7 separate regions of the Homo sapiens genome follow, and all the other regions are linked to region 5. The links are contacts of gene promoters, found by promoter capture Hi-C in blood cells and fetal thymus (Javierre and others, 2016). All regions are on one chromosome and are shown on one strand. The core of a region is centred on a gene start or on the middle of the fragment in contact, and the rest is flanking DNA. Distances in the headings are between cores, read along the strand shown.

Region 1 (2,970 bases), core at 435-2,934, 660 kb before region 5:
GGATCTCAACCTTGAGTGCAGGGAGCTTTTTCTTGGGTGTTCTAGCTCAGCTCTAGGGATAGTGGCTCCTTGTATCTGCTATTTTTATATTATTTAGCACTCTCTTCACTTCTTACTAGCCAATCTTTTGCTACTGTAGTCTCTCCCTATAATTAACAACTCTTTATATTAAACTTTCCCTTGTCCAAATTACCGTGTGGACTCTGTCTCATGAATGAACCCAAACTGAGCTACCCCCAAGCATTCAGCAGCTTTTCCATTTATGTTGGTGTCATTCAGATAGGACATCTCTACCCATTCTAGACAAGCCATCTCTACCTGTCCCTACCCAGAAATCAGAGACGTGTTTCTATCTATGTACAGGTCTCTTGATTCAAGTAAAGTGTTAATTATCCAACCTCATTTAATAGATAACTGAGAACAAGAAAAGCTGTATGGTTTCCTTATGATCACATAGCCAGTTAATTATGGAGCTGGGATCAGAACCCTGGTATTCTGACTCCTAACCCAATGTTCTTTCCTCTCTGCCATGCTGGCATTTTTCACTAAAAATATTAATTAAGCCACTGTTTATGGGGGGCGGAGCAAGGTGGCTAAACAGAAGCCTCCACTGACTGCCCCCAAAGGAACACAAAATTTTAACAACTAACTACAAACAAAAATGCACTGTCATAAGAACCAAAAGTCAGGTGAGGAGTCACAGTACCTGGATTTAACTTTATATCATTGAAAGAGGCACTGAAGAGGGTAGGACACAGTCTTGAATCACTGATGCCACCTCTTCCCTATTCCCCAGAGCTGCTACATGGCATGGAGAGGGAATCTGAGCACTTTAGGGAGGGAGAGCACAGTGACTGTAGGACTTGATATTGAACTCAGTGCTGTTCTGCCATGGCAGAGAGCAAAGCTGAGCTGGGCTCAGCCATTGCCTGCCCACAGAGAGATCATTTGGATCAGCCTTAGCCGGAGGGGGATCATCCATCCCAGTGGTTGGGACTTGAGTTTCTCTGCAAGCCTCATCACCAAGGGCTAAAGTGCTCTGGAGTACTAGGTAAAATTAAAAGGCAGTCAGGGACACAAATACTGCATTTCCTAGGCAAGTCCTAATGCTGGGCTAGGATTAGAGCCAGTGGACTAGGGCGGCACGTGACCTAGGGAGACATCAGCTGGGGTGGCTAAGGGAGTGCAAGCATCATCCCTCCCACAACCCCAGGCAGTGCAACTCGCAGCAACAAAAGTGACTCCTTCCAGCACGGTGGCTCATGCCTGTAATCCTAGCACTTTGGGAGGCTGAGGCGGATCACTTAAGGTCAGGAGTACAAGACCAGCCTGGCCAACATGGTGAAACCCTGTCTCTACTAAAAATACAAATATTAGCTGGGCATGGTGGCACATGCCTGTAATCCCAGCTACTGGAGAGGCTGAGGCAGGAGAATTGCTTGAACCCGGGAGGTGGAGGTTGCAGTGAACCTAGATCATGGTATTGCATTCCAGCCTGGGCAAAGAAGCGAGATTCTGTCTCAAAAAAAAAAAAAAAAAAAAAAAAAAAAGTGACTACTTCCTTCTATTTAAGGAGAAGAAAGCTAAGAGGAAAGTGGACTTTGGCTTGTATCTTGACTACCAGTTCAGCCACAATAAGATAGGACACTGGGCAGAGTTATGAGTCCCCCAGACAACATTTCTATATACACCCTGGACTAGAAGGGAACCCACTGCCTTGAGAAGAACCAAGTCCTGGCAGGATTCATCATCTACTGACTAAAGAGCCCTTCAGCCCCAAATAACTAAAAGTGACACTAAGGTAGTATGCAGTGGGTCTTGGGTGAGAGTGTGAGATATGCTGGTTACAGGTGAGACCCAGCACGTTCCCAGCTGCAGCGACTACTATGAAAGACTCCTTCTGCTTGAGAAAAGCAGAGGGAAAAGTAAAAGGAACTTTGTCTTACACCTTAGGTACGTATTTGGCTACAGTAGAGTAGAATATCAGGTGGGCTCTTGGGGACCCTGAGTCTAGGCCTTGGTTCTTGGACAGCTTTTCTGGACCTGCCCTGGGCCAGAGGAGAGCCCACTGCCCTGAAGTATGAGTCACAGGCCTAGCAGCATTCCCCACAAGCTGACTGAAGAGCCATTCGGCTTTACGTGAATATTGGTGGTGGCATGGCAGAACTCCCTGCAAGCCAGTGGTGGTGGTGGCCACTGGGAGAGCCTCCTCTGCCAGTGGAAAAGGGAGGGAAGAACAGGAAAGACTTTGTTTTGTGGTTTGAGGGCCAGCTTAACCACAGCAGAATAAAACATCAGGTAGATTTCTAGGTTTTTTTACTCCAATCTCTGGCTTCTAGACAGCATCTCTGTACCTGCCAAGGGTCTGGGGAAACTTGCTGCCCTAACAGAAAAGACACAAACCTGACTATCTTCCCATCTGCAGACTGTAGAACCCTAGGGCCTTGAGTGAACACAGGCAGTAGCCAAATAGTGGTTACAGTGGGCCTTAGGCAATACCCAGTGGTGTGCTGGCTTCAGGTCCAACCCAGCACCGTCCCAGTGGTGGTGGCCACAGGGCTCCTGGCATCACTCCAACCTCAGCTCTGGGCAGCTCAGCACACAGAGAGAAAGAGACAGACAGACAGACAGACAGACAGACAGACAGACTCCATTTATTTGGGAGAAAATCAGGGAAGAGAACAAGAATTCTGCCTGGCAATTCAGAGAATTCTTCTAGATTTTATCCAAGAACACCAAGGTGGTAACTCAATGAGTCTATAAGAACCACAGCATTATTGATCATGGGACACAAGTCCCTTCAAATACCTGGAAAGCCTTTCCAAGAAAGATGGGCACAAACAAGCCCAGACTGTGTAGACTACAATGAGTACCTAAATTTTCAATGCCCAGGCACTGATGAACACCCCCAAGTATCAAGACCATCCAGGAAAACTTGACTTCACCAAACTAAATAAGGTACCATGGACC
Region 2 (2,934 bases), core at 312-2,811, 680 kb before region 5:
GCAGCAATCAGACTAATACACTCTGCGGGGAGGAGGAGCGCCAGGCACTTTAATTGACTCATGCATTTGGGATCTGAGACCATTTTAAAAGATCTCAGTCTGTAGTAGAACAGTCTGTCAGCTTTCATTTGGGATTTTAAAGTGAACTGGGGAATATTACCTAGGGAGAAGAATTTTGTAAATGTTTTACACTAGTTTCTTATGATCATACATTAGAATTCAAAATATATTTCTTTAATCCTGTTGACAATTTTTCACTTGGAAAAGACTTGAGCAAAATAGCTCTTATGTGATTTCACTTGAACCAATAGGCCCCATTACCATTTGAAATAAAAATCCCCTTGAATTTAAGCTTTTTTTCTTCACTGTGGTGATTCATTTTTTATTTCTAATGGTTAATCTTGATTCCTGACATTTTATTTACCTTTTGTTAGTTCTCAAAATATTAAGAGTCATAGGCAACAACAGAAAGTGGAGCGTTTTATGCTTAATTCCTGATACAGAAATTTAGCAGAGTGTTTGGCTAAAGAGTTTCATGAGAAATAAACAGACACCTTTATGAACTGAGGTTTTCCATGAGCACATTCCCACATTGACCATCTCCTGGAGACAGGTAACATATCATTCTCTTCTGCATTTTTAAGAAAGTGTGAGAGGCATTAGCAACTATTTGCTAAAAGCACAGAAGCAAAGACTCTAAGTGAAGACTGAGAAGTAAACAGTTTGGCTCCAATGTATTTACATGGATTATTTAGTTTTTTTTTTTTAAATGTACTAGTCTATCTTATCCTTATTCTCTAATAAGGTAAGAGATGAAAAATTGCACTAATTATAACCATCAAATTTCAGTTTCTAAAAGAGACCTTAGAATAAGAAGGATCTAGCTAGGTGTGATGATATACACCTGTAGTCCAAGCTACTTAGGAGGCTGAGGCGGGAAGATCCCTTGAGCCTGGAAGTTCCAGGCCAGTGTGGATAACATAGCAAGACCCTGTCTCAAAAAAAGAAAAAAGAGTAAGATGGATCTGGCATTTACTGAATGCACAAAGAAAATAAAAATTCTATTATTCCAGGAATTTTTTAAAAATGAGTTTTTATTTGCTGCTGTCAAATGTGATTATGGAATTTGAAACAGGGTGGAACTCGAAAGCAGATAATGTAACTGAATATGAACTATTGAAATGCACTGAGGTAGTTAGGAAGGATGAAAAAGACCTACTGTTTGATAGCATAACAGAGTGACTATAGTCAATAATAATTGGACATTTAAAAATAACTAAAAGAGTATAATTGGACTGTTTGTAACTCAAAGGATTGCTTGAGGGCATGGATACACCATTCTCCATGATGTGACTAATTCACAGAGCATGCCTGTATCAAAACATCTCAGGTACCCCAGAAATATATATACATGTACCCCATAAATATATATATATGCACACACATAAACATTATATAAATAAATATATCTACTATGCACCCATAAAAATTAAAAAAAAATCATTGAGGGTCACTCTAGGAATATGTGTGTGTGTGTGTGTGTGTGTGTGTGTGTGTGTGTGTGTATGTGTGTATAATATCTTTCATTTCATAACAACGCAGTCTGTCAAACTTCCTTTTTTTATCCCATGGAATTTATAAATTGGGAGGAGCATTTTGCATACTTCATAATTAAATTAACTTTGATAGTCATTTAAATCTTTCAGTGAGATCCTGGAAAAAGAAGAGGCTAGAGGGACACAATCTGACAGTGCTGTGCTGAGGGTATATTGAGGAATATCTGTTTTTTAGAATCTGAACTACCAGAGGAAATGACTAAAATGAATGAACAAATATTACTTGGAGTGAAGATAAATAACAACTACATGGTCAGGGGCGGTGGCTCACGCCTGTAATCCCAGCACTTCGAGAGGCTTAGGCGGCCAGATCACGAGGTCAGGAGTTCAAGACCAGCCTGGCCAACATAGCAAAACCCCATCTCTACTAAAAGTACAAAAATTAGCTGGGTGTGGTGGCGGGCACCTGTAATCCCAGCTACTCAGGAGGCTGAGACAGGAGAATCGCTTGAACCCAGGAGGCGGAGGTTGCAGTGAGCCGAGTTCATGCCACTGCACTCCAGCCCGGGCAACAGGGCAAGACTCCACCTCAACAACAACAACAACAACAACAAAACAAAACAACTACACTTTGCCAAACACAATGCTATTCATATACAACATTTCACTGAGTCTTCACCAGACCTTGAGAGTAGGGGCTCTCATTCCCATTCTGTGGAGGGATGCTGCCCAGCTGGCCTGGCACACATATCCTCTGCTGGGAAATCCAATGCTGTCTGTCCTAACCCATGAGGCCTTCCCAGTAAATACCCTGCTACCCACAGTGGATAATTCTTCCAGCTACAAAAATATTTAGGTAGGGGTTGCCAGAATTAGCAAATAAAAATAGAGAACACCCTTCATATGTCCCAAATATTATGTGGGACATACTTAGACTAAAAAAATTTGTTGTTTATCTGACAGTCAAATTCAACTGGTGTCCTGTATTTTATCTGGTAACTCTAGGTAAGGGAATAATGGGAACATGTCACCTGAAGGAAAAAGTAGGTAAGGAATTGGAACCCAACAATGAGTCTAAGGTCCAATAAACAGTGAGGAATGTTCCTAAGGAACAAAAGATGTACCTGACTTATTCTATCAAATGAAGCTGTAGTAGAAAGTATGATGGTGGCGATATCAAGATGTGGGTAAACTGGAAAGAAGTATACTTGGGGTAAGCTTTCAATAAACAGGGACACTATCGAGAGTTACTCTTACCTAGGAAGGAGTCAGTTATTATTCCTTGGAGTAAGGCCTACCATTCTATCCCTAGTGGCTAATGCCCTGGACACCAACAGTAGCCATTCATTATATGGGTATTGAATGACTGAATTGGGAG
Region 3 (3,155 bases), core at 441-2,940, 730 kb before region 5:
TCACACTCCACACACAGGACTTCTAGGCATCCGCAAGCCTCAGTCCTGTGCCCAACCATCAGTCCCCTTGAAGCAAATAAGCTTCTCTCCTTCTCTATCCTGAGGCGTGTTCATCCCCTCCTCACACTCACCTAGGGAATGGTCTCATTACACTGCGCAGCTACAGTGATCAGCAAAACACCCCAAAGCGCATTCCCCTTTACCCAAGTCTGGGCTGTTAGTCCTAAAGGGCAGTAAGTAGAGGAGAGTTCAGCCTACAAACACCATTTTATGGCTAATAAAGTTATTTAATTCTTCAAGAGCACAATGTGGTTAAGAATGTCCATAATGGCTGGGCACGGTGGCTCACGCCTGTAATCCCAGCACTTTGGGAGGACGAGGCGGGCAGATCACGAGGTCAGGAGATCAAGACCATCCTGGCTAACACGGTGAAACCCCGTGTTATTTAGTCTTTACTAAGAATATAAAAAATTAGCCGGGCGTGGTGGTGGGCGCCTGTAGTCCCAGCTACTCTGGAGGCTGAGGCAGGAGAATGGCGTGAACAAGGGAGGCGGAGCCTCGGCTCTTGCAATGAGCCGAGATCGTACCGCTGCACTCCAGCCTGGGTGAAAGAGCGAGACTCCGTCTCAAAAAAAAAAAAAAAAAAAAAAAGTCCATAATTCCCAATATGAAGCAGAACACTCAACATCTTCCAGACTGCAGTGTCTGCACTCAGATGCATGGAAACTTCACCATCTTCTCCAGAAACAAGGGAGAGATACTTACCTCACATTTTAAAAAATAAAGGGACCATTCACTTGAATTAAAAAAATAAAAGCAACTTCCAAGACTCACTTGTTTTGGCAAACAAGCTAACAAACCATCTCCAGTGGGCGTCTTCCTAGGCATACTCGAGGAAGCCTTTCAATGGAATGAGCTTCTCCTTCCTGCTCTTACTCAAAGGCACTTGTCAGATCTGAAATGACACCAGATTTGCTTTCCAGAGCAGCTGTTACAAATGACTGGATTTAGAGCAAGGTATCTTTAAGACAGGGTCAGGAAAGGTGAACATTCCAAGGGGCATATTTCAGTGTGCAAGATTTTGTGTACCAGAAGGCCCTTGGTTCAATGCAAAGCCTAGTGAGGAGATTCCACACCATCCTAGTTCCCTTTGCCTTGTTTCCTTTGCCTCCCTGACTTTGACTCTGTGAGGTACCCATTTGTATCCTTCTCTGAGACTGGCATTCACCTTCCCTTTGCCAGCCTCTCTGGCAGCAGCACTCAGTAGTAATACTCATATCCTTTGCTCAGCCCTTTCTGTGTACTCATAGGCAGTGTGCTAAGTGCTTGATATGCATCATCTTATAACCCTATAATAATTCTGCGAGGCGGTGCTATCATTATACTCAGTTGACAAGTGAAAAACACCAAGTCGGAGAGACAAAGGTGTTTCCTTTCCCAGAGGTGACACATTTGATAAGGGTCAGAAGTCAGGTTTTCGTGACTTCCAAGCCCAAGCTCTTTCCACTCTGACTTCAGTCTTTTCTTGTTCCCTCTGGCTTGCACTTTCTCTTTTCAGCTCTGCATTCAGCTGACTTCCCCATAACAAATTGATCTTGCCCACTTCTCAGGTGCCCTGAGTGTTCCCTGGCAACCAGCTTGTCTTGAGGGCCTCATCTAACCATGTCATTGTGAAGTGCTCTCTGCTGCCCTGCCTGGCAACTTTTAACACCGGCCAGTTCCTTGTTCCATGCACATTTGCTAAGAGGAGCGTGGGTTTTTCACGTATTTCTCTCTCTCTCTTTTTTTTTTTTTTTTAAGACGGAGTCTTGCTCTGTCGCTCAGACTGGAGTGCAGTGGAGTGATCACTGCAACCTCCACTTCCCAGGTTCAAGCAATTCTCCTGCCTCAGCCTCCTGAGTAGCTGGGATTACAGGCACGCACCACCACATCTGGCTAGAGACAGGGTTTCAACATGTTGGTCAGCTGGTCTTGAACTCCTGACCTCGTGATCCGCCTGCCTTGGACTCCCAAAGTGCTGGGATTACAGGCCTCCCAAAGTGCTGGGATTACAGGAGTGAGTCACCGTGCCTGGCTTTTCATGTATCTCTATTTTCATTAACCAGATGCTTCTGTGTTAACATTTAAATTAAAATAAAAGCAATCAATTTTCAAGCTCAGGATCTAAGAATACATTTAAGGTCTCAAAAATGGATTGAAAAGAATGTAAATTTAACTTGTAATTGGATACATGGAAAGTTAATGGGAAGTAAAGATATTTCAAATTCAGAATCCTTTGAGGCTTTTCCTAGAGATGAGAAATTATGACTTTTAAAAAGACTTTGTGTGTTTTTAATGTATATTTGCTTATAAATATATTCGTTCATGAAACTTTGCCAGAGTGTCTCAGGAATGCCAGTCTAAAATGTAAATTTACTATTTTGAGAAGGTTATTACTTCTTCAGCTTATTAGAAATAAGCCAGTGTGAGATCAATAATTACCTTTTGGAATGCTGAATTATTTACTGTATTTGATTATTTTGTGTTGCAGGAATATAGCAGGTGTTTAGGTAGATGAATTAGAAAGAGTACCTAAATTGCTTTTACCAGTTACAGAGCAGAGTGGAGAGGAATGTTATTTGACTTAGGCTAACCTTGGAATTTTTCTTAAACACACAGTTGTTTGAGGCTTTACTCAATAAAATACTGTACTGGCACAATGAAATGGGTATCCCGTTTCCCTAAAGCTAATGACTTTCTAAAGCACTTGACTTTCCTACTGTAAGATTAGCACTATTATTTCCAGGCCAATCAATAGGCATAACTCCAAGATTAAAAGCAATTTGGATCATTATTCTCTTTTCATTACATATTCATTATTTTCTGTTTGAATAAGACCTGTAATCAGTGTTATTTACCAATCTTTATGGCGAAATTTTAAACTACTGATTGTTTCAGTCTTTGCAGGTATTAAATGCCATTTCAAATATCCTTTCAATAATTTTGTAGTTGCTAATGAAGTCCATTTTCCCAGATTTTTCAGTCCACTGAAAGAACATTGAACCCCCAAGAGTCTTTAAAAGGTATTTGTTGTTTAATTGGTGGCAGCTGTTCCTTAGAAAGTTACCTAAGTATATAAAAGTGCTTTTTCTCCCCTCTTTAATAGCTTTTTATCA
Region 4 (2,875 bases), core at 33-2,532, 740 kb before region 5:
CCCCTCTCTGTGGGCTCCCTGTCTCACCCACCTCCCAGATGGACTGGAGGGAGTAGGCGGAATCCACAGGCTGTTCTCCTGTCACAAACTGTAATGCATCTGTTCCCTGGTGCTTTCCGTGAGCAGCGAGAGTAAGATGTTCCTGAAGGGACCTAGGGAGCCTGGCAAGGCACTTACAGTGTAAGTGAAGGCTCTTTTAGGCTACCCTCTTGCCTTCAACCAAGTATAAACTGAAGCTATTTTATATAGTGGAGGCATAGTTTTTATATTCAATCATAACAAGGATGAATGACATGTCTTCCTTTGGGTAATTAGGAGATGTTTCTTTCCACACAATAGTGTAGCAATGTGTTTAAGTACGTTTACCCTTCTGTGAAATTTTTAATGGGTACAATGGATAAGAGATTAATAACAGAATCCTGGACCATTATCAAGTCAGGTATGTCTTTGGGAAATGTGGATAACCTAGGTTGCTGTGAAATTCACTTAGGCGAAAGTCCACATTTTAGTTCATTATGTCCTCTCCAGGTGGCAATGTCTCTTGGTCTCATACATGGAGAAATGGAGAAACAAAAGGAGACCGTTTCTGATTTAGCCACTACAATTAATGATAAAATAGAAAATGGAAGCTTTAAAATACACAGCCCTCTGCAGGACATACTCAACTCTTGCCCTCACCACCTCTCACTTTACCATTCCTCCTCCCAAGGAATCTTGGCTCAGCATGTCAGGAAGCCCTTCAGGGACCGTTTATAATTTAAAGCTCTGGTTTGAACTGATTCTGATTTGGCTTTTGGTAGTCAGATCTGGCATCTCTTCCATTTGCCCCTCCAAATCTGGCCCCATTTTCTCTGTTGCATTTACTGCTCATTCTTTCTGCTGTCTTTTTATTAGATTTTCCAAAGCAAAACTCCCTGCAGTGAAGTCTGTGGTCTGGTAATTTATCACAGATATTCTTGAAATTGCCTCATTAAAAGGGGCATTCGAAGCTGAAACCTAAGCGTCTGTTACCACGGTAACCACCGGCAACTATTTAGAACAGCCTGCTTAAACCAGAGGGGTAGAGGATTGCTGTTGGCAGAGATTGAAGGTAGGCAACTAAACTCTACTGGGCAGGGGAAAAGGCCTATAGATTCTGATGTGGAATTCTCAACCTCAAGTCAGATATCCTTCTACATAAGACAAAATAAGTTGGTGCCATGCTCCTGAGTTCTCTCCTGCATGTAGTCTAGGAAATTTGAAAATTGAAAATTCTTTTCACCATCAGATTACCAAGGGAGTTTGAATTAAAAATGTATACCTCAAAATTACTTGATCATGCTTTGCATGTTCTTGAGCCAGTCATTTGCCTCTCAGTGCCTCAAGTTCTTTGTACATTTTTTTAAAAAGTGGCCACCATGAACTCTATATGTCTTAGTCTGTTTGTGCTGCCATAACAAAATGCCTTAGGCTGGGTAACTTATAAAGAAAAGAAATTGGTTTCTTACAATTATGGAAGCTGAGAAGCCCAAGATCAAGGTGCTAGCATTAATGTTTGGAGAGCTGCTCTCTGCTCCCAAGATGGTGCCTTGTTGTTGTGAAATCTGCAATATCACGGGGTGGGAGGTGGAAGAACAAGAGAGCCAAACTTCACTTACTCAAGGCCTTTTAAGAGGGTACCTAACATCATTCTTGAGGGCAGAGCCCTCATGATTTAATCACCTCCCAAAGGCCCCACCTCTTAACACCATCACCTTGAGAACTAAGTTTCAGTATACAAATTTTGGGGGTATACACACATTCAGACCATAGCACTATGTCAGCAGGTTATGTGAATTATCAGTGAGGCAATAAAAGTGAAGCCTTTTTGTTAACAAGGTGCTACATTCAAGTAGACTAAAACTCACATTTTGAATCTATAACTGTTCTCCAGAATGTCTTATGGATTGCCATTAGGCAAGCTTCTTCTCTCAAAACAGAAACAAAATCAAAAACAATCACAATTCCTCCAATAGAGAGTAGTGTCAAAATAACCTTATTTATTGCCTTTCCAAGCCAGGATTCTCCATACTTTCCATTATCCACAGGCCTGTAAAAGAGCTAACAGTGCCTGTTAGGCATATCTTGAAGTACTACAAAGGTGGTTATAAGAAAAATACATTTGGTAAATAATGAAGATTACAAAAAGTACAAATGACATTCCTTTGTCCTGTTTTCTTGGTTTCCCAGTGCAATTTTGGATAAAATATTAAAGAGACAATTAATCAGGAGTGCTGAGCACTGTATGAAAATAGAGAGAGATGCCAGGTCAGGCAATACATATGGGTAATTTAGAAAGATCTATATTTTTAAAAGTAGTTAGATGCTTGGGAGTATTTTGTATGTACTGTTTTCTTAGTAGAAATATAGTGCATTAAATCAACAGGATTAGACAAATATGACAGATGGAAAAACACATCTTGGTGAGCAAAGTATGGAGGGATGAAGACATGATAAAGAAGAAAAGACTGCAGAGTGTTGATGTTCTTGTGACAAGAAGAAGGGGGTATGGCCTGGACTGGAGTCGTGGTAGGAATGGTTATGGAAGACAGTAACAACAATAACTAGTGTCATATGAAAAGGGATTGAGTTATGGATATAAGTGGATGCATTAAATCTGCAAGATCTAGAATTTCTTCAGCACTGCACTCCTTTTGTTGTTTTTCATACTGTCACAACTGCATTAATCAACTATTAGTGAATTTTTGACGACTCATTCATGTACCTACGAAGGAACAGGGGTAAGCAGAGCTCATTCTTCGGGTAGTCTTAAGTAGGCAGCCTGCGAGCTCAAATGTTCTAAATTTCCTTCTTTTCACCAAGTAGGTAGGGAGGTCTGAGCTTCCCGGAGATAGGT
Region 5 (2,894 bases), core at 17-2,516:
TGAAAGAGCTCTTTCAATATGGAAAACATTGTATCAGGAAAGAAAGCATTGTGTCATAGTTTAATTTGCAACTATTTTTTTCCTTAACTATATAGAAAATGAACATATCTTATAATAAAAGGCATCTCAGATTTAATGAAATATATATGGAAGTTGCCCATACTTTGCTATAATTGCCTTTTGCCTTTTCTCTTAGAGTTGAAATTTCAGTAACCATTGTCTTCACTCTGGTGATTACTAACATCAAGATATTTTACTTAAAAAACAAAATTTTGAGTTTGTTGCTTTTGCTTTTTTTTTTTCCTTTCCTTGAGACAGAGTCTCGCTTTATCACCCAGGCTGGAGTGCAGTGGAGTGATCTCGGCTCACTGTAACCTCCGCCTGCTGGATTCAAGCAATTCTTCTGCCTCAGCCTCCTGAGTAGCTGGAATTACAGGCACATGCCACCACGCCCAGCTAATTTTTGTATTTTTAATAGAGATGGGGTGGGGTGGGGCGGGGCGGGGCGGGGGGAGGGTCACCATGTTGGCCAGGCTGGTCTCGAACTCCTGACCTCAAGTGATCCGCCAGCCTTGGCCTCCCAAAGTGCTGGGATTACAGGCGTGAGCCACCACGCCCGGCCATTGCTTTTGCTTTTAAACTTTATGTTTTTAAGGGCTATGTACTCAATGCCATTAATCTACTAAGAAAAGAACAGTTTGTCTGCTCTAGCCGCCGTACTTTAGAATTTAGAAAATTAAATAAGAAAGGAAAAAATGTCACGCAAGAGGTGGAAATGATACAGCAAGACTGCCGTCCAGACAGACTTTAACAGTGATATATCCTCTTTTGCTATTTCAAACAATGGCAATCACATTTTAAAAAACCGAATAGCTGCTTTCACAATGAGCTCAACCTGAGCTCATTTAATCCTGAGAAACCTGTGTAACAGGTAGTACTATCTTCTTTTTCACAAATAAAGAGAGCGAGGTCAGTGAAATGAAATAACTCACCCAAGAAGAGAAGTGTTGTCAGTGGTGGGCCCAGAATTCAAAGGAGGCATCCCCCAGCCCCCTAAGCCAGCGTCTCTGCAGTGGCAGCTCCTCCATACACACTGGAGCCTGAAGCCTGGATTGGCCCTCTGGCGACAGATTATTTGAAAATCATTCCTCAGTTTTAGTGAACAATCCATACATTGTCTTCGTGGACTTGAAGGTCTTCAGTGGGCTGCCTCCTGAGGCTGCCTTTTGCTGGGTAATACCTTAGGATGTGAGAGCCGCTTGCCTTTAAATATGGAACCAGCTGCTACGTGCTCTTGACCACGGCAAAGCTGGCAGGACCTCAGATTTCCTTATGCGCAAAATGTCCCCATTTTTTGCAGAGTTTCTTGGAGCGTCCTTCTAAGGTTGAGCTCAGCTCACTTCACTAGGTTGTCATTTAAGAGCATATTGTGGGATGGACCTCATGCCTGACCCTGGGGTGCCATCTCACTGCCAACCTTTGACCCCGCTTTATGGCCTCACTGAGAACCTTCTCCCCCAAGATTCTCACTCCTTTAAATAACTCAGAATGCTAGTCTAAAAAGTTATCCCTCTTCCTTCTCATTAACTGCATTAGTGGTTTTCCATCTTTGCCAACATTGGAATCACCTGGGGAGCATTACAAAAATCTCCAGGCTCGGACCACACCTCCTGTCAATTAAATCAGAAGCTGTGGACGTGGGATCCAGGAACAGTATTTTTGAAACTGTGCAGGTGATTTCAATATGCAACCAAGTTTGTGAGACAGTACATCAGGTTAGTTGTCCACGAGCTTTACTTTTATAAACCTTTCCAATTAAGTTTTTCACTTTAAGTTAAAAGCCCTTCAGTATTAGACCAGGTGGGGTGGCTCATGCCTGTAGTCCCAGCACTTTGGGAGGCTGAGTGGGCAGACCACCTGAGGTCAGGAGTTCAAGACCAGTGACCAGCCTGACCAACATGGCAACCCCATCTCTACCAAAAATACAAAAATTAACCCTGCATGGTGGTGCCTGCCTCTAATCCCAGCTACTCTGGAGGCTGAGGCAGGAGAATCACTTGAACCCAGGAGGTAGAGGTTGCAGTGAGCCGAGATGGTGCCACTGCACCCCAGCCTGGGCAAAAGAGCGAGACTATGCCTGAAAAAAAAAAAAAAAAGAAAAGCTCTTCCGTATTCTTCCCTCACCTGCATAACCACTTTTCAAAAACACCTTTTGTTTTTATTACAAAAAGAACACACATTTATTGTGCAACCTTTAGTTTTGCAAATACAGCTAAGCAAAGAGAAGGAATTACAAATCACCAGTGATCTTACTATGAGGCAATAATTCCTGCTAATGTGTTCATATGGATTTCTCTAGCATCTTTTCCTTGTTTCTATCATGTGCATGTGTATTTTATTGTACATATGGTTTTGTAGCCTCCTTTTCTCATCTGAACGCCTTTTCGATTGAACTTCTCAACCTCCTGTCTTTTCCTCCTCTGACCTGACCTCTGTAACTTTAATAAGTCAGTTTTTCTTGGGCCTTTCAACTTGACCTTCTGTGAATTCTGAAGCCTCCTTTTAACCTAATGGCCAATTCAGTTCACAAGTGCTAAACCTGTTCCTTCTGGAGTCACTGTCTTTCCAAATGGCTCTACCATCTGGCTGCCCAACTGCTCAAGTCAAATGTGTCTGAGGTCATCCTAGATTCCTTGGACACATTACACTGCATTTCTAACCAACTATCAAAGCATGTCTATTGTGCCTCTTAAATATTTTTTGAATCCTTATTCATCTCTCCATCCACATTTGCAACTTCCATCCAGGGCCCCATTACATTTTGCCTCCATTGTCACAGCCTCCTAACTAGCCTCTTTATCCCCAGCCTTGCTTCCCTCTAGACCACTCCCCCA
Region 6 (3,160 bases), core at 546-3,045, 540 kb before region 5:
TGTAAGTGGCCAACAATTAATCACCAGAGAGATGCAATCATTAATCACCAGAGAGATGCAAAACAAAACCACAATGAGATACCATCTCACACAGGTCAGAATGGCTATAATTAAAAAGTAAAAAACAAAAATAACAGATGTTGACAAGGTTGAAGAGAAAGGGAACACTTATACATTGTTGGTAGGAATGTGTACTCAGTACACAGGTACTGAGTAAAGAGTCAGAAAGAGAGTGAGAGGAATCTGAAGATACCATTTGAGTCACTGAGGCAAGACTCATGCCCTGGATTCCCATTCTTGTAAATCAATTCATTCCCTTTTCTGCCTAAGCTAGTTTGAGTTAGGTTTTGTCAGTTGCTTCTGAAGATTCCTGACTAGCAGACACATCTTCTATGTGTAAGGAAATCTGTGTCTTTTTGTCCTCTATAACAAGAGGACATGTATCTAGCTGTTCCAAAGGGTAATCAGTTCTTTTCCCAAACTGATGGTCCATGGAATGTTAATTTCCCACAGGAAGTTAACACGTATACTATAAAAATGTGTTCAAGTAAGTTTGGGAAATACTAAGATAAACAAAGTAAAATAAATTTATTTATGGCAGGAGCTTTCAGAATATTTATGATAATATGGTGGAGTGCATTATGAATCTCTAAAAGGAGGACTTAGTGTGCTTATTGCTCAGTTATCTGATAACAGAAACCTTTCTCAATAGACCCAGTTTGGGAAATAATATTTACCTTTCCATAAGCAAGCAAGAATGGTCAAGTAAACAAACTGAATGGCATAGACACATAGACACTTCCTGCTTTGTATTATAGTTTCTGTTTTCATGTCTTGTCTACTAGACTGTATACTTCCTGAGTCTAGTGGCTATGACTTAATCTCCTGTGTATCCCCAAGAACTAGCAGAGTGCCTAAAACACAGAAGATATGCACCAATAAATGAAAGAAACATAGAATAAATGATGAGTGAAATTAAAAAGTGATGGAAAGCATTCTATTGAATATCCTAAGCTGTAGGTAAATAACAGGACACAGGAGTTGGCAAAATAAAAATGTAAGAATAAATTAAATATACATTATTCCTTTAAGCCTGTCTAATTAGTCAGTGAGTATGTCTTTGTAAGATATTTAATCATTTGAGAAGCTGGAAGAGAAATTGAATTACTGGAGAACAAATCTAGTGTCAGTTCCTTTTGAGAATAAGGAGCCATGAATGCTAAAAGCCAAACTGAGGCATGACATCCACGACCATGATACAGACTTGCTAGGATCATGATTTTGGAGGGACAGCACAGGCAGAAATAATGTTGGCTTTCAGAAATTATTTATCATGAACTGAAATTTAAAAGGCCACCCAGGCAGATCAGCATTTATTTGCCCAATTGCCTCTAATACATTCATTTATTCAGCACATTTATACAAAGTGCCATATATGTAAATGTATAACAATCATATTTCTGCAAAACAAACCAAAAACCCAGAGCAATTAGAAACACCTATCAAGTAGACAAAGGCAGAGCTTACATCTGGATTTTGAATACTTAGAGGCACCTGTCACTTGCCATCATATGAACTCACTAACAAAAGACATCTGCCATTTGATACTAATTGGGTAATTTGCACAGTGACTCTTGAACTCACAAATGGTTTATGGTAGATATAGTTTAACTCCACAATTAATATGTATTGCATTTAAAAAATCTTCATGAGGCCATATAATCATTTTAACAGTTGTGTAAGAAGGGAACTTTTGTTGAGGGTTTACCTCATAACATTGGAACCTTTCTTTAAATTCTTATGCTAATTTTGTTTGTAAAGCAAAATAATGCTTTTAAAAGTAAGAAAATGATAAGCATGGGTGATTAGTTTTATTGGAGAGGTTTTTTTCAGCTGAAAAATTCTCATAAGACACATAATTCCTGATGCCCAAGGTTTTCATAAATGTGTTTTCAGAATCACAAATACTAAAAGAGGCATTGCTTTAGTATTGAGCTTTAAAAAGACATGCTAATAAAATATACCACCGTGTTATCAAGTCATAATATTTCGGTCTAGTTCTATCTATTTTTAACTTCGGCTACTTATTGTGAGAACTGATTTTAATTGGTCCTCGTTTTTCTGGAGATAGACATCTGTATGATTATGATGATGGAACTGGGTTCCCTTCTTTAGCAGCACTGCTGAACCGAGAGGGCACTGAGACCACAAAAGAAACCACAGTCTTCTCCCTCAAACAAATGATTTAAGTAAATAAGATTAATAAAACATGGCTTCTCTAATGCTGTTTGAAAAATCCCCATTACATTCTCTTTCTTCCTTCCCAGATCTCTCAGAACTTCTGTAGAAAGCAAACATCAAAAGGACCAAAGGTTTTTGTAGTGATTCAGCCGCCCACAGCAAAGAAGTAAACCTTGATTTTCTTTCAGCCTAGGAAATGATCAGCGAAGAGGCTTCACAAACAGCCTCTTTAACATTTGAGGTTAAAAAAGAAAGTCAGTGGAGCAGAACAGTTATTTTCACAAACGCCTTCGGGGTTTTTTCTTCTACTTTTTAAGTAACCCTTCTAATCCCCCCAAGTAAAATATTTTCATTAGCTAAAGTTTTGGCTAGGCATTTTAAACATGCTTTAAAAAAACAAATGATAAAATATATTTATGTATTGGGTGTGACTTTTTCTAGTGCTTTTTTCCTTTGGCTTTCTCAAATGCTGATTTCCTCTGGCTATAGAGTTTCAACTAGCTTCTTTGGTGACTCTGCCAAGTCACACCTACCTTAGCAGTTTCCGTTTTGTCTCAGAATTCAGCTTTTGGAATTGAGCTCCGGAATCACTGTTCCTTTTTTTTCTTTGGAGACAGACAACTCTACAAAGCAGTTCACCCTAGAGTTCTGCCAAGTGAACCCTGGTGTTTGGATTTCAGGAGGAGAGCCCATCTCCAGTGCCTACTTGGGGAACTCTGTTACCTACCCTGTAGTTTTTTCAGGTGAGATGCCAAAGGTTATGTTCAAGAAAGGCAAAGAGAGAGAGATGTGTTGCTTTCATCAACACTCAGACAATAAAGTCAAAGATAGTAAAATTAATTAAATTAACAGGGAACCAACTTTACTGGAAAAGATAAAGCAATAAACTGGACAGAGATTCAGATGAACTTACAAATAA
Region 7 (3,198 bases), core at 219-2,718, 960 kb before region 5:
CTGGAAGAAGGAAGAAGGACTGGTTTTATTGTTTTGTATTTTTTATTTTTTTTGAGACGGAGTTTCACTCTTGTTGCCCAGGCTGCAGTTCAATGGCGCAATCTGGGTTCACTGCAACCTCCACCTCCCGGGTTCAAGTGATTCTCCTGCCTCAGCCTCCCAAGTAGCTGGGGTTACAGGCACGCGCCACCACGCCCGGCTAATTTTGTATTTTTAGTAGAGACGGGGTTTCTCCATGTTGGTCAGGCTGGTCTCAAACTCCTGACCTCAGGTGATCTGCCTGCCTTGGCCTCCCAAAGCACTGGGATTACAGGCATGAGCCACCACGCCTGGCCAGGAAAAGTTTTATTTCTTCGGAATACTAGAAGCTAGCACTTCACCTAATATATGATAGGTTTTCCCGAAGGATAAGTAGTCCTTTCTTATACACAGAGTTTCCAAATAAAATATATAATGAAAGAAGCTGAGCAGACAAAGTTGAAGGTGTAAATCAGAAAGCCCAAGAAGCAGATATGATCTCAAGGAAAGCAGTAGAGAGAATAGCAGGTGGAACAGAAAAGGGTGGGGGGGGTCCTTTCAACTTCAAGAACTGGGTATAATTTACATATTTTGCTATTCTCACTAAGTATCTGTCAAATGATTCACTTTAGTTGCCATACCAACTAAGGAACTCTAATTAGGAACAAACAAACTAGGAATAAGGAACAAACAACTCTAATGTGATTTGTAACGAAAAGACTCCAATGACCATGTGGATCATTAAATTGGTAAGCGCAGGCAGCAACGGGCTGCCTGGATGGAGGTTTCCTTTTAGGCAGGTGAGGAGCAAAACTATATCAACACCTACTTATCATTTCTTAATGTGAATCACTCACAAATCAGAAAAGAAAACAAATAAAGCTTTCATTGAAAACATAAAACCAGTGCCCCAAGTCAATGTCTACAAATGAAGGTGTTGGCAAAAAGATTCCCAGTTAGTTCATTGATAAGGTTTTCCTTCTTACTCTCAGCATAAGCCAAGAAGCAGGTATCAGGCATAGATTATCTGTAATAAACAATATTGTGCCGATGGGTGATAAAGGTAGAGTTGCAGTAATATTGACTTAATATTCCCCAAAGCTCATCCTTTCCCAAACATTTTGGCTGGCCTACTAAAGCAATACATTGATTTGTGTGAATTTCATCTTCTTTCACTTCTTCTGAGCACCACTGTGAAGTACTGTTGATCGGCAAAATTACCAAAAGCTGAGCATCCAACGGAAGAAATTTAGAACCCTTAAAAACCACAAAAGGGATAATCAACAAGAAAATGAGTGTAGATGAAGCAGAGTTTCATATCTCCCTAACCATTTTCTCTCTTGCGGTTCTTTTTGCTCCTTATTCATTCATTCTTTTTCGAGAAGAATAATTCTGAAAATTAAACTAATGTGTTATTTTTTCCATAATGTATGATCCTGCTTCTAAACCCTGTTCACAGACCTAAGGAAAGAAAAATAAAAAATCAACCCAAGACTAACAAACGTATATCCCAACTCTCAGATGCCAAGCCTTCTTTTTGTTCTTTTCTTTTCTTTAGTTCAAGACAGAGTTTCACTATATTGCCCAGGCTGGTCTCTAACCCCTGGTCTCAAGTGATCTTCCCCCTTGGGCTCCCAAAGTGCTGGGACTGCAGGCATGAGCCACCATGCATGGCCAAGGCTTGTTTTTCAATGTAGACGTGCTGTTTAGTAAGGGCATGCTTTGTTGAAACATACAAATGAGCATATTGCTTAAATAAGCAAGTATGTAGACCAATAATGACAACTTGTTTTAAATAGTGTTCTTTACTGTGTTATTATATCATGATACACTGTCACATGACATGGTTGAGTTTAAAGGACTATTTTGGCATATGCTCCATTCCTCTCTCAAAATTCTAAAAGCCATTTAAACAGTAATTTATACCAGATATTCCTATTATTGCCCTTGGTAATTAGTTATGTTAGCAGCTCTGAGGAATGAAGTTCTAACTAACCTATTTTAGAATCTTGCTTTGCTAAAGCTTTGTCAGGATTCATCCTCACATCTTCTTGCTACTAACTCAATAAACTCATTTAATTTTCCTTAAAGCTTGAAATAGACTTCTAAGTATATATCTAACAAAAAAAATTGTATTTCTCTACTTTTTGAAATGAAATGTCCTTATACTGCATTCTCTTTCCCCAGTTCCACTGTACCACAGTTTAAACAGTAGGTAAATGGAAGCTACAGAAGGTTACTTCCCCCTTTTACATACCAAAAAGTGGCCCAGTGATGGATGGGGCAGGCAGTAGAATGGGATGTTTCCCAGCCCATATCAGGCACTACCAAATGTCTGTGACAACCTGCCACAGGTGGGTCCTGCAATTGTCCAGGTGTAGCATCTGTGCTACCCAGATGGTCACTGGTGAGGGGAAGTCTTCTCCAGCATAAGGGGAGCTGCAGGGCAAGTGTAACTGCAGAACTATCAGACACTTTGAAGCTTGCTGTCTAGCAGAACAAGACTTACTGCAAAATGATTTCAAATACACATGGGCAATGGCATTAAGTAAAACTGAATCACATTAGAAAGTTATTACTTTGATTGTCTTTCAATTAATCGGATTGTGACAAGGAGTCTCAAATTGGTATTGGCATGTCTCTTGCACTCACTTAACACCCACAAATCTCAAATTTTTCAGAGTAGGCATCAGACTCAGCATAATATCCATGCAGAATGTTATTATTTTTTCTTTTGCACTTTATGATAACCTTCTATTTAGAGCAAGTGATACCCTTTCCCCACTTAAAGTTCAAAGCGTCTTTAAAATGAACACTTGGTAAGCAATTTTAAAAGGTAAATAGAAGGAGATAGTCATTTTTTAATGTGATTTTATCATTTAAAAATATGCAAAAGAATAATTTTTTAATGTATAAATACAATAGTTTCTAACACTGTGCAGTCCAGCGGGTTAATCACTAGCCACACATTGCCATGAGCAAGTAAACTGTGGCTGGTGTGAATTGATATATGCTATAGGTGTAAAATACACACAAGATTTTGAAAATTTACTTCAAAAGCAAAAAGAATGTAAAATTTACATTAATAATTTTTTAATCGATTATACGTTGAAATGACAAAGATGGTATGTATTTGGTTGAATATCTGTTAAAATTAAATCTACTTTTACGAAACTTTTT

What was found. The method cuts DNA at HindIII sites, captures the fragments that hold promoters and counts their contacts. A CHiCAGO score of 5 or more calls a contact.
Region 1: a contact is called between a fragment that was not itself captured here and the fragment with the promoter of PKP4-AS1 in region 5, in 3 of 17 cell types (non-activated CD4 T cells, M1 macrophages and megakaryocytes). The highest score is 6.3, in non-activated CD4 T cells.
Region 2: a contact is called between a fragment that was not itself captured here and the fragment with the promoter of PKP4-AS1 in region 5, in 14 of 17 cell types (naive CD4 T cells, M2 macrophages, M0 macrophages and 11 more). The highest score is 9.5, in naive CD4 T cells.
Region 3: a fragment that was not itself captured here is called in contact with the fragment with the promoter of PKP4-AS1 in region 5 in 1 of 17 cell types (total B cells); the score reaches 6.9 in total B cells.
Region 4: a fragment that was not itself captured here is called in contact with the fragment with the promoter of PKP4-AS1 in region 5 in 1 of 17 cell types (monocytes); the score reaches 5.1 in monocytes.
Region 6: a fragment that was not itself captured here is called in contact with the fragment with the promoter of PKP4-AS1 in region 5 in 3 of 17 cell types (endothelial precursors, M2 macrophages and non-activated CD4 T cells); the score reaches 8.7 in endothelial precursors.
Region 7: a contact is called between a fragment that was not itself captured here and the fragment with the promoter of PKP4-AS1 in region 5, in 2 of 17 cell types (M2 macrophages and erythroblasts). The highest score is 7.1, in M2 macrophages.

What each region holds. Positions count from the first base shown.
Region 1 is chr2:158,070,029-158,072,998 of GRCh38, forward strand. It overlaps a transcript of UPP2 not described here. Among named protein-coding and RNA genes, the nearest start is that of UPP2, 30 kb to the right of the region's middle. The HindIII fragment of the contact is 4,494 bases long and covers 1-2,970 here.
Region 2 is chr2:158,049,634-158,052,567 of GRCh38, forward strand. It overlaps a transcript of UPP2 not described here. Among named protein-coding and RNA genes, the nearest start is that of UPP2, 51 kb to the right of the region's middle. The HindIII fragment of the contact is 2,422 bases long and covers 351-2,772 here.
Region 3 is chr2:158,005,849-158,009,003 of GRCh38, forward strand. It overlaps a transcript of UPP2 not described here. Among named protein-coding and RNA genes, the nearest start is that of UPP2, 94 kb to the right of the region's middle. The HindIII fragment of the contact is 3,223 bases long and covers 80-3,155 here.
Region 4 is chr2:157,989,427-157,992,301 of GRCh38, forward strand. No RefSeq gene overlaps it. Among named protein-coding and RNA genes, the nearest start is that of UPP2, 110 kb to the right of the region's middle. The HindIII fragment of the contact is 1,311 bases long and covers 628-1,938 here.
Region 5 is chr2:158,733,736-158,736,629 of GRCh38, forward strand. It overlaps PKP4-AS1 (PKP4 antisense RNA 1), which reads right to left and starts at 1,267. Exons shown (of 4, transcript NR_135242.1): 1 at 993-1,267. The HindIII fragment of the contact is 4,247 bases long and covers 1-2,894 here.
Region 6 is chr2:158,188,960-158,192,119 of GRCh38, forward strand. The region is part of intron 11 of CCDC148 (coiled-coil domain containing 148); the gene reads right to left. All of the region lies in intron 3 of CCDC148-AS1 (CCDC148 antisense RNA 1), which reads left to right. Among named protein-coding and RNA genes, the nearest start is that of CCDC148-AS1, 24 kb to the left of the region's middle. RefSeq lists an enhancer at 2,417-2,576. The HindIII fragment of the contact is 4,296 bases long and covers 1-3,160 here.
Region 7 is chr2:157,774,329-157,777,526 of GRCh38, forward strand. All of the region lies in intron 5 of ACVR1 (activin A receptor type 1), which reads right to left. Among named protein-coding and RNA genes, the nearest start is that of ACVR1, 100 kb to the right of the region's middle. The HindIII fragment of the contact is 1,141 bases long and covers 899-2,039 here.